Linked DNA regions of Homo sapiens: region 1 is linked to region 2. The links are contacts of gene promoters, found by promoter capture Hi-C in blood cells and fetal thymus (Javierre and others, 2016). All regions are on one chromosome and are shown on one strand. Each heading gives the region's core, a stretch centred on a gene start or on the middle of the fragment in contact. The rest is flanking DNA. Distances are from core to core; before and after follow the strand shown. Region 1 overlaps TACR1-AS1 (TACR1 antisense RNA 1). Region 2 holds the start of TACR1 (tachykinin receptor 1).

Region 1 (4,985 bases), core at 952-3,451, 41 kb after region 2:
TTTTAACTCTGAAAAACCTTGACTTTATTCTGAGTATAGTGTGACAGATATAAACATTGTCATATTTCAAGTAACACATCAATTGTCTCAGCATCTCTTACACAATATTCCTCCCTTTCTTTTGACCCTGAATTATAGCAGTCTCTTGCGCGCACACACACACACACACACACACACACACATACACAAACTCCTCACTTGACATGGTTCTGATATGCATGGATTTTAGTTACCATGGTTTGATTAAATGACACCAGTCTCCTAACAACATAATTAAATTTCAGTTATCATGGTATATCGTGAGTGCTTGTATAAGGTACAAGTTTCAGCCCACAAATGACTACATTAAAAAAAAATGTGCATCATCATCCATGATCAGCAACATTCTTTTAAATTCTGTCTATGACTAGTCACTGTGCAACTGTTATTCAGTCTATGTACACACAGAAAAGTGTGAAGTTTTAGTCCCTCCTTGTCTCACAATGATAAATACGTGATGTTTTACAAAAGATGAATAATAAAAAGAAGAAATTCGCCAGCAAAACTGAAAGCGCAACAAAGAAAGTGATAAACTAGAAGTAGAGGTAGAATTGAACATAAATGGAGTTATAAAAGAAATAAATGACCATAAAAATGTTGACACTGCTGTCATTGGAGAAATTCTAGATAAGTAGCCAGAAGGAACTTAGTAAAAGTCTACTTAATGGTGTAAATAAGGAAAGTGGTTCTGACGAAAAGAATGAAGATGTCCTTGAGGAAGCGCTGCCAGGAATAAACTCAGCATTAAAAGAATTCTCAGAGACATTTTACAGCATTGAAAGTGCAAAGGGTAAAATAATGTAAACGGATCCAAACTTAAGAAGGAATATGACAAGTTGCCAAGATATAGAAGTGAAGCTTGCTTCCTATCATAAGATATACCATGAGAAGAAGGTAAGCAATGTTAAAATGACTCTTGGTGAGTTTTTTTGCAGATAAATGTAGCGCTTTAATTATCAATGTTTCTAAAATTTCAGCGTGCTAAATAAACATTAGTTTTGCCATTTTCCGCATTTTTCTATGCATTTGTAACTAACCACAGGATAATTTTTTAAAAATTTATGAAAGATTATAATTTTCCTATTGATTATTAAAATTGTTATGCATGGTATTGGCTTGCATGGTCATTTTCACAGTTTCTTTTCTGTTTAATTCAGACATCTGTATTTTATTTTAGTGTTGCCAAAAGTATACTGTCTTGAGTATCATAGCTTTTAAAATCTGTTTTATCATGTGTCAGAGCATGCTCTCCACCCTTATTATTCTTACTATTAAAAATTCTTTACTATTCTCTCTCTTTAGGTAAATTTCAAACTAATTTTGTCAAATTCCAGCTCCCATGGAGGTTTGATTAAAATTACGTTAAATACAATACTCATTTGGAAAAATTATTGTGTTTATAATACTGCCTCCTCCCTTCAAGAATATAATTGTCGCTGGGCGTGGTGGCTGACGCCTGTAATCCCAGCACTTTGGGAGTCTGAGGCCAGCAGATCACCTAAGGTCAGGAGTTCGAGACCAGCCTGACTAATATGGTAAAACCCCATCTCTACTAAAAATACAAAAATGAGAGAGGCATGGTGGCGGGCGCCTATAGTCCCAGCCACTCAGGGGGCTGAGACGGGAGAATTGCTGGAACTCAGGAGGCAGAGGTAGCAGTGAGCTGAGATAGTGCCACTGTACTCCAGCCTGGGCAACAGAGCGAGACTCCGTCTCAAAAAAAAAAAAAATTGTTGATCCTTCTCTCACAGCCTCCTGAGTGGTACCCTCCTCCTGCCAGTGCCTGAGCTGATGGTGGGAACAGCATGCCTGTGCCCACTGTTCGAAAAAGCCAGAGCCCCATTCCCACCCTGGACACCTAGGCCTGCATGCTCATGCTCTGCATGGCTGTAGCCCTTGTGGTTGGTGGCACCTTGGAGCTCCTGGGCACGAAGCAGCTCATGCTGCAGAGATTGGCAGTTGTCTTCAGAGGGGACAAAATGGCTCACTAGATGCATCCAGGAAGCACTGCTTCCACTGAGAGAGACCAAAGTATTGCACATACTTTGAGCAGACCTTCAGAGAGAAAACACCAACAGCTATTGGAAAGGTGATACAGACACTGAGGGTGAAGAGGGAAAAAGCTAGGAACCCTGTGCAGGATACATGAATGCTAGGGCTAGTTCATGGCCCTGAATGGATCATGTGGAAGGAGTGAGTAGAGAAACAGAGGGACAGCTTACTTTCACCATGGCCCTCTGTGATCTTAGCTATAGGGGACCCCACATGCCCCATGGATGTTTGAATTGGCAGGGGAATCTTCCCTGAGAGTAGGCAGAGACAGGGCTTCAACTGGAGCAGAGCCTAGGGGCTTTTGTGCCTGGGGCAGCTGCAGTGGAGTACAGCCATAGGCGCCCATAGGGCTCTCTATCTTCTTCCAAGTAACTCTAGCCCCAGCTGACCACCAGATCAGGAGAGAACAGGGCTGGTGCTTCCCAATGGGACTGGGTTGCATCTTTTCTGCAGACCCACCTGCCTGCCAGCCCTTCCCAGGACCCCTGCCTGGCCATTCTGCAGGAGTATGCACACAGCACAGCCTCTGCTGCTTAGCCTGGATCCTTTGCTCCATCTAAGTAGTTTCCCAGTGGCCTGGGAGCACATCAGATCCCCCAGCACAGCTGGAACCCAACCCAAGGGTCCAGGGGATGAAGCTGCTGGCTGGTCCCTGTATCCTGGGGTTGTGGTACAGAGCTCGAGAGTGTTGAGCTGAGATCTGTGGCTGGTACTGGAGCTGGGGAGGAGTCCTCATACTCAGAGCACTGAAAGGGGTGATAAGACATATCGGTTCATGGGTTGGTGTGGGAGCAGGGTGTTCCTCCCTCCACAGGGCCAGTTTGGAAAGAATGTGGCCTATCGCCCTGCCATAGCCTCTGCCTGAGGGAGTCTCGTGGCCCAGAACACCTAATAAAGGAAATAAAGACAGAACACCAGTGATCAGAGAGGTCTCCCCCAAGGCCTAGAAATGGACCCGGTGAGGGAGTCAGCTCTCCCTCCTCCACCACAGAGGACAGCTGCAAATATGAGGAAATACAATAAAGCCCTGCAGATAAGCACTTATCTTCTGGCTATAATTCTTTAGTGCCATCTACTGAATCACAGCCTAAACTACAACTGCAAAAATATTCTGTCACTTTGAAACCAAGGACAAGAATCCAGCCGCAAATAAAGATAGTATACAGAGTCTTGGCCCTCTGAAAGCACCCAGAAATGAAGCCAATTGACTATATTCAACTTACACAACAGTTAAAGGAACATAAGTCCTTTCAGATGAGAAAGAATCAACACAAGAATTCTGACAATTCAAAAAGCTAGAATGTCCACTTATCTCCAAACAAACCCACTGGCTCCCAAGCAATGATTCTTAAACAGACTAAAATGACTGAAATGACAGATGTAGAATTCAGAATCTGGATGTCAAGGAATCTCATCAAGCTTAGGGAGAAAGTTGAAACCTAATCCAAGGAATCCAGTAAAATAGTCAAAGAGCTGAAAGATAAAATAGTAATTTTAAGAAAGAACCAAACTGAACTTCTGGAACCAAAAAATGCATTACAAGAATTTCATAATACAATTGGAAGTATTAACAGCATAATACCTAACAAAGGAAATGCAGACACAACACCAGTGTCATGCAGCTGAGAAACAGCATGAGACCAAGCTGAGGAATCTCAGAGCTTGAAGAAAAGTTCTTCATATCAAGTCAGTCAGATAAAAATAAGGGAAAAAAAAGGATTTAAAAATTCATACAACTTCTGAGAAATATGGGATTATGTAAAGACATCAAACTTACCACTCACTGGAATTCCTGAGAGGAGAGAGAGTAAGCAACTTGGAAAATATATTTAAAGACATAGTCCATGAAAATTTTCCTAAATAAGCTAGAGAGGTTGACATGAAAATTCAAGAAATACAGAGAACTCCTGCTAGGTATCATTCAAAACACCATCCCCAAGGCACATATTTGTCAGATTCACTGAGGTCAACATGAAATAATCTAAAAGGCAGCTAGAGAGAAGAGTCAGTTCATGTATCAGGCCAGCAGCAGACATATCAGCAAAAACCTTATAAGTCAGGAGAGGTTGAAAGCCTATTTTCAGCATCCTTAAAGAAAAAGAAATTCCAACCAAGAATTCACTACCCTGCCATATTAAGCTTCATAAGCAAACAAAAAATAAAATCCTTTTCAGACAAGCAAGCACTGAGGGAACTCATTACAACTAGACCAGCTTTACTTATGGCCAGGTGTGGTGGCTCATGCCTGTCATCCCAGCACTTTGAGAGGCCGAGGCGGGCAGATCATGAGCTCAGGAGATTGAGACCATCCTGGCTAACACAGTGAAACTCCATCTCTACTAAAAAAAGAAAATACAAAAAATTAGCCTCATGGTGGCACACGCCTGTAGTCCCAGTTACTCAGGAGGCTGAGGCAGGAGAATCGTTTGAACCCAGGAGGCGGAGGTTGCAGTGAGCCAAGATTGATCACGCCACTGCACTCCAGCCTGGGCGACAGAGGAGAATCTGTCTTAAAAAAAAAAAAGTACTTAAAGGAGACCTAATATGAAAACGAAAGAAAGACAGCTGCTATCACAAGAACACAGTTAAATACATAGCCCACAGACACTATAAAGCAACTAAACGGTCACGTCTGCAAAATAACCAGCTAACAACAGATGGCAGGATCAAAATCTCACATATCAATACTAACCCTGCATATAAATAGTCTCAACGGCCCACTTAAAAGACAGAGTGGCAAACTGCTATCTTTAAGTGGCAAGTTTGCTATCTTCAAGAGACCCATCTCAATGTTAGATAGGTCTCAACAGAGCAGATTCCCTTTTAATTCATCCACAAAATTATGTAATTTGAAGTTATGTTTTCTACCTTCAGAAATTCTTTTTTGTTTTTCA
Region 2 (5,382 bases), core at 2,341-4,840:
TAACCTCAATTATGTAGTATAATAGTCATAAAAGAGAAATTCAAAGGTTAGCAGGTGTTGCTTCTTGTCGGTTAGGTAAGGGGGATTGGATTTTTGTGCTCTTCATATTTCCCAAGTCTTCTGCAGTGAACAGGTTTAATTTTACAATCAGGAAAGCCACATTGCTGTTATTTTTAAAGACTTGATTCAAAGGTTGTCTGTTAAAAATTCAAGGAATATACAAACAGCTGATTTAATATTTCCTCTAAGTCTGCATTTCCATGCTGGAGAAAAGGGAGATAACTTACAGGGAGAGGACTTAAAGCCCCCTTTCTTTCCAATACATTCTTGGGAGAGAATGGATGACCACACATGCAGGAAATATATTCATTGGAAGGCCTGAGGGGGTGAGTTTATAGTGTGCTCACCAGGCTGAGCAAGAAAAAATAGAAGGAGCACTTGGCAGACATGGAGACAGAGACCTGAAGTCTCATCCCTAATTCTACCTTGAACTCTAATCTTAGGAATGCCATTGGTAACCTCCCTGGGCTGTATCTGCATGTTGGAAACATGGTGACATTCCCTGTCGCTGTCATTTCCTAAAGCTCTGGCATCCGAGACCTTTTGGTCTCACTGAGCAGGTATCACAGAGGGTCGGGGCTCTGCGGTGGTTTACCTAGAGAAAAACAACAACGGAGCTGAAATCTGGCTCCCTGCCCAATCCACTGTGCGGACTCTGACTCTCATCCCCACCCCTAACCTTCTAAGTTCCAGAGGAAAGATCAGGGCTGCAGAACATGTTTCTGTGTAAGCCAAAAGAGAGAGCTGTCTGCTGGTGCTCCATCAGCTACTGAATGCTCCAGCTCACACTGACTGACAGGTCTTCCTAGAGCTTGTGCAAAGCCCCAGTGCAGAAAAAGCAAACAAACAAACAAAACCCCCCAAAAAACTTGCCCTCTAATTTAGGGGGCATCAAGAGAGTGTTTGTAAGGCTGAACTGGCATCAGGTTTCACTACCCTGATATTCACTTATATATCATGCTATCGACTTTTTTAAGTTTAAGGAAGCTGTTATGAGATTAAAGGAGCATGTCAATGCAGAAAGATTTACAGGTGTACCTCACTTTCAGCAAACTGAATATCTGAAAACCAGTGTAGTACAAAAGATAAATTTGCAAAATAATTCATTTCACTCCCACTTTGAGTAATTGGTTTACCATCTACATTTAAAATACAAACTGATTTTCCACAATTTGTTTTACATAAAACATAGTAAGCACATAGGAGCTGCATATAGAGAGATGTACAGGGAACTAACAAATCAGTATTTGGACACCACTGCAAAGGATGGAAATGAAGATTTCCCTGATTTTAAAAGTGTTCATTGACTACAGGAGCTAAAAAAGACTTCTAATAATTTGCAAGTTATAAACAATCTTTATGCAAAGAGGGTTAGTAGTTTGGAATTTTTTTTGAAGTTTTCTCCTAGCTCCTTCTTTGGGTTTCTCACATTCAGTTATCTCAGGAAGGACATCAAAAGACTCCATTTTAAAATCACAGTGGTAGGTGTTTTAAGCATACTTTCACATCCCAGGTAAACATTTAACACCTGTGCACACATAGACATACACATTGGAGACCTAAGATACTCACAAAGGAGACAATACCAACAGAGCTGTGCTCCAATAATCAATTTTCCATCATGCTACCTGAAGAGCCATTCATTCCAGAATACCATCCCCAGTGTTTGAAATGCCAACCTTTTCACTTTCAGTCAGCTTTGGGAACCCTAACCTGTTGGTTGCCGGAACAGAAGAGCTCTCAAATGCCTTTGCCAAGCATGTTTCTCTGTGGATAGAGACAGGCTAAATACATACATTTTACATTGCAGGAGAAATTTAGAACACCTCTTGGGTAAGCTTCCTGGATCCCTATCCGTGGAGTTTCTTAAGGATAGCATAACTGTCTCTCATTCCTGAATGAGAATTCCTAGCATTACAGAGTAAACTGCATTAGAATTCTGAGTATCTTATGATACTGATGAAATGCTCTTTCACATCCAAAACAAACAAACAAACAAACACAAACCAACGAACCAACCAACCAAACAACAACAACAACTACAACAACAAACTGGAGAGTTGCAGTGGGAGCAGAAAGTCCCAGAATCCTCTAGGTGTACTTAAAACAGGAAGGCAACAAGAGGCTGTCTGACAGAAAAACAGGCCTGGAGGAATTTACAAAGCCCCTTCCAGGGTCTAGTCCTTTGACCAAACCCTAGGTATTGTTTGCAGCCTGCAAGGGTAAAGGGGAGAAGGAATATATGGAAAGGAGCAAAGCAGAAGTTGAAAGTGTCAGGAAGATGAGTGGAGAAGAGATGAAGAAAGGGGAGTTAAATGAAGAAAAGGGGGATGTGTGTTGAAAGGAAGAGAGAGAGTGATGGGTAAAAAAGAGGAAAAAAAGTTGAAATACATAAGATGAAGTTCCCCATCAACAAATGACTCAGTTGATCAGTAAAAAAACCCTCAGAGTGGCCAATCTTCCACTTGACCCATACCCCACCCAGTTCCAAACCTCACAGCAATGCCGTGGTCCTCTATGAGCACTTTCTCGCCTTTTCACAAAGGCTAATCTCACCTATCAAAGGCCACAGCCGTCATGGAGTAGATACTGGCGAAGACAGCGGCGATGGGAAAGAAGTTGTGGAACTTGCAGTAGAACAGGCCGTAGTACCATTCGTTGTGGACAGCATAGGTGAAGTTCACCACTGTATTGAATGCAGCCATGGAGGCCTCCGCGAAGGCCAGGTTCACCAGAAAATAGTTCGTCACTGTCCTCATTCTTTTGTGGGCTAAGATGATCCACATCACTACCACGTTGCCCACCACAGAGGTCACCACAATGACCGTGTAGGCAGCTGCCCAAAGGACAATTTGCCAGGCTGGTTGCACGAACTGATTGGGTTCCGAGGTGTTAGTGGAGATGTTTGGGGAGAGGTCTGAGTCCACCGGGAGGACGTTATCCATTTCGAAGCTAGGCGGTAAAGCCCTACTATCTGTACACAACCCCCCTCTGCAGCAGAGTCCTGTGGCTGGCGCCTGGGGCTCAGGGTCCTTCTAAAGCCAGACAGGAGGGTGGAAGGCTTTTTCTGGGCAGCACTCTTTTTGAAAGCTGAACTGGCGCTCAGAATATAAACGCTTCTGGATGCACTGCCCGCCTGCCCGCGGTGGCTCTGAATTCCTCCACTTTCAAGCTTCAGGAGACGTTTGAGTTCAGAAGTCTGGAGACAGCATCTCTCTTGCGGTAAACTGAAAAAGGGAAAGAAATTCCACCGGTCACAGTTCTAGGAAGCAAGAGATCCCCCGCATTTATGCACCTGCTGCTGCCTGCAACTCCTATTTCTCCTTCCTCCGCAGGGAAAGGCAAAGCCCTGTGCTGCGTGAGGACTTAGGAGCGAAGTGGGGGCCCATTGCAGCGCGACCTGTAAAAGTTCTGAGCCTATGGCCAGGATTCTGGAGCTTCGTATCCAGCTGGAGATTTTTCCTTCTCTTTTGCTGCCGCTGCCGCCGCCTGCAGTTTCGCGGGCACCTCTCGGTTCGGGTTGCTCAGCTCGCGAGTTAGCTGCGCACGAGGCTTTTATAACCCCCTGCAGAGACGTCACTGGGAAGGGGCAGTACCTGGGCTGCGTACTCGCCAGTCCCGGTGCGCAGCGCGGCAGCTGCGCCAGCTGTTGACAACTGTCTCATTCCACCGCCGCAGCTACCACGCCTTTTGCTGCTTGCTACTTGCCGTGGGAGTCTGCGAGCCGGGAGCCCCACGCACTCCGCGAGGGGGCAGTAGGTGGCTTGGAAGTAACTGACACAGATGCGGTCCGCAGCTGGAATCGTCGTTGCACGAGGGGTGCTGGGAGGAAGGAAGGATTTGGGAAACAGCTGGAGTGGAGGACAATCAACTTCCAGGGAATGAAGCCCAGAGCCCTGAGACAGCTCTGCAGAGGCGGCTTGCCTGTGGCAATGGGAAACGGTCATGTGTGGGGGCGATGTGCCAGCGCCGCGCTCCGGGCCGCGCTCCAGCTACCGAGAAGCCAGAGGCGACGACTCCCTGGTCCAGGTGTCCCGAAAACAACTTTCCTGAGGCTGTGTTTAGGAAACACCCCCACAAAATATCTAGCTCAGTTACCTGGCTAGCTGATTCACCTGGGAAGTGACAGTCTCTAAGCTTTGAGGACACTTTCCTCAGCCACCCTGGTGACTTGGCCCCTCGTTCCAGGAGAAGCTCCATTTGAGCCCTCCACCTGACCCCTCTGGATGAGCCTCTGCTCAATCACTGGGGACAGGGCTGAGCTCCCTGCGAATCTTGGTGAGCGCAGGAGCCACACTCATAGGCAGCTTGTCGCTCAGACGCGCGGCTCTGGGCTCTCCGCCAGCAATCACTGCGGCGCTGCGTTTGCCTCCCGGGGACCTGGCAGCCTCCGCCTCCGCGCCTGCCAAGCCTGCAGGCCAGAGCCGGGCTCGGGGTGGCATCGGTGGTCCTTCTCCCTGTTCCCCTTCCAGGTTTGCATAGGGGCTGGAGGACAGGTCAGCCAGCCTTCTCTGCCCGCCTCCATCCTGCCCTGCCGTCTTCTGACTTTGAGGCCTCGTATCCCAGTCCAAGACCATTTCAAACGGTAGAACTGGTGCCAGACACTTGGAGGAGGCAGGGCAAAGACTCGCCAGTCCGTATAAACCCTTTTGGAGAAGCCAAGATGGGATGAGCTCCGCAGCACGTTCCCGCCAGACTGCTGCAGGCAGAGTTCCGCGGAAAACTGAACCCCGGGAGTCCTCAGGGGCCCATCTACCCCGGTGCACCGCCCCCTCCTTTCACTGCGGGGACTCGGAGCTGTGGGACTGGAGCGCGCACCGGCAGACTTGCGCGCAGGTTGGAGTTGGCGCACACCCGCGCCAGCCGGGGAGCGGCGTTTACGCACTGGTACCGCGAGCGCTCAAAGCATCTCTCGGGAAGTGCTTTAAGGCTGGGAAATTTACTATACACTTATGCCGGGCAAAAATTGGATCCCACGCCGGGGAGGAGAATCTGCTGTTTCACTCTGTATTTTTTCGGAGCCTGGGATTTTAGCGTATATAGGAACCGCACATTGCTTTGCCAGGTTCTCCTAGGCACCCGTAAACACACTGCATAGAAAACTCTAGAGATGCTTTCAAGAGAACAGCGTCCCTTTATTTAGAGCGGCTGCACAAGAGGTCTTCTTTGTGGAAGGGAATGCCTCCTCCACCTTGGATCTCTGCTTGAGGCTTCCACCATCTCAAAGAGCTGACAGAGAGAGGGAGGAAAAGGGAGAGGGAAGGGGATGCGGAGGGTGGGGGAGGGGGGAGGGGAAACTTCTCTATCTTTAATTTTCCTTCC

What was found. The method cuts DNA at HindIII sites, captures the fragments that hold promoters and counts their contacts. A CHiCAGO score of 5 or more calls a contact.
Region 1: a fragment that was not itself captured here is called in contact with the fragment with the promoter of TACR1 in region 2 in 1 of 17 cell types (megakaryocytes); the score reaches 5.9 in megakaryocytes.

What each region holds. Positions count from the first base shown.
Region 1 is chr2:75,238,764-75,243,748 of GRCh38, forward strand. All of the region lies in intron 2 of TACR1-AS1 (TACR1 antisense RNA 1), which reads left to right. All of the region lies in intron 1 of LOC107985900 (a long non-coding RNA gene), which reads right to left. Among named protein-coding and RNA genes, the nearest start is that of TACR1, 42 kb to the left of the region's middle. The HindIII fragment of the contact is 2,613 bases long and covers 896-3,508 here.
Region 2 is chr2:75,195,930-75,201,311 of GRCh38, forward strand. It overlaps TACR1 (tachykinin receptor 1), which reads right to left and starts at 3,591. Exons shown (of 5, transcript NM_001058.4): 1 at 2,617-3,591. The coding sequence starts at 3,005. All of the region lies in intron 2 of TACR1-AS1 (TACR1 antisense RNA 1), which reads left to right. The HindIII fragment of the contact is 965 bases long and covers 3,231-4,195 here.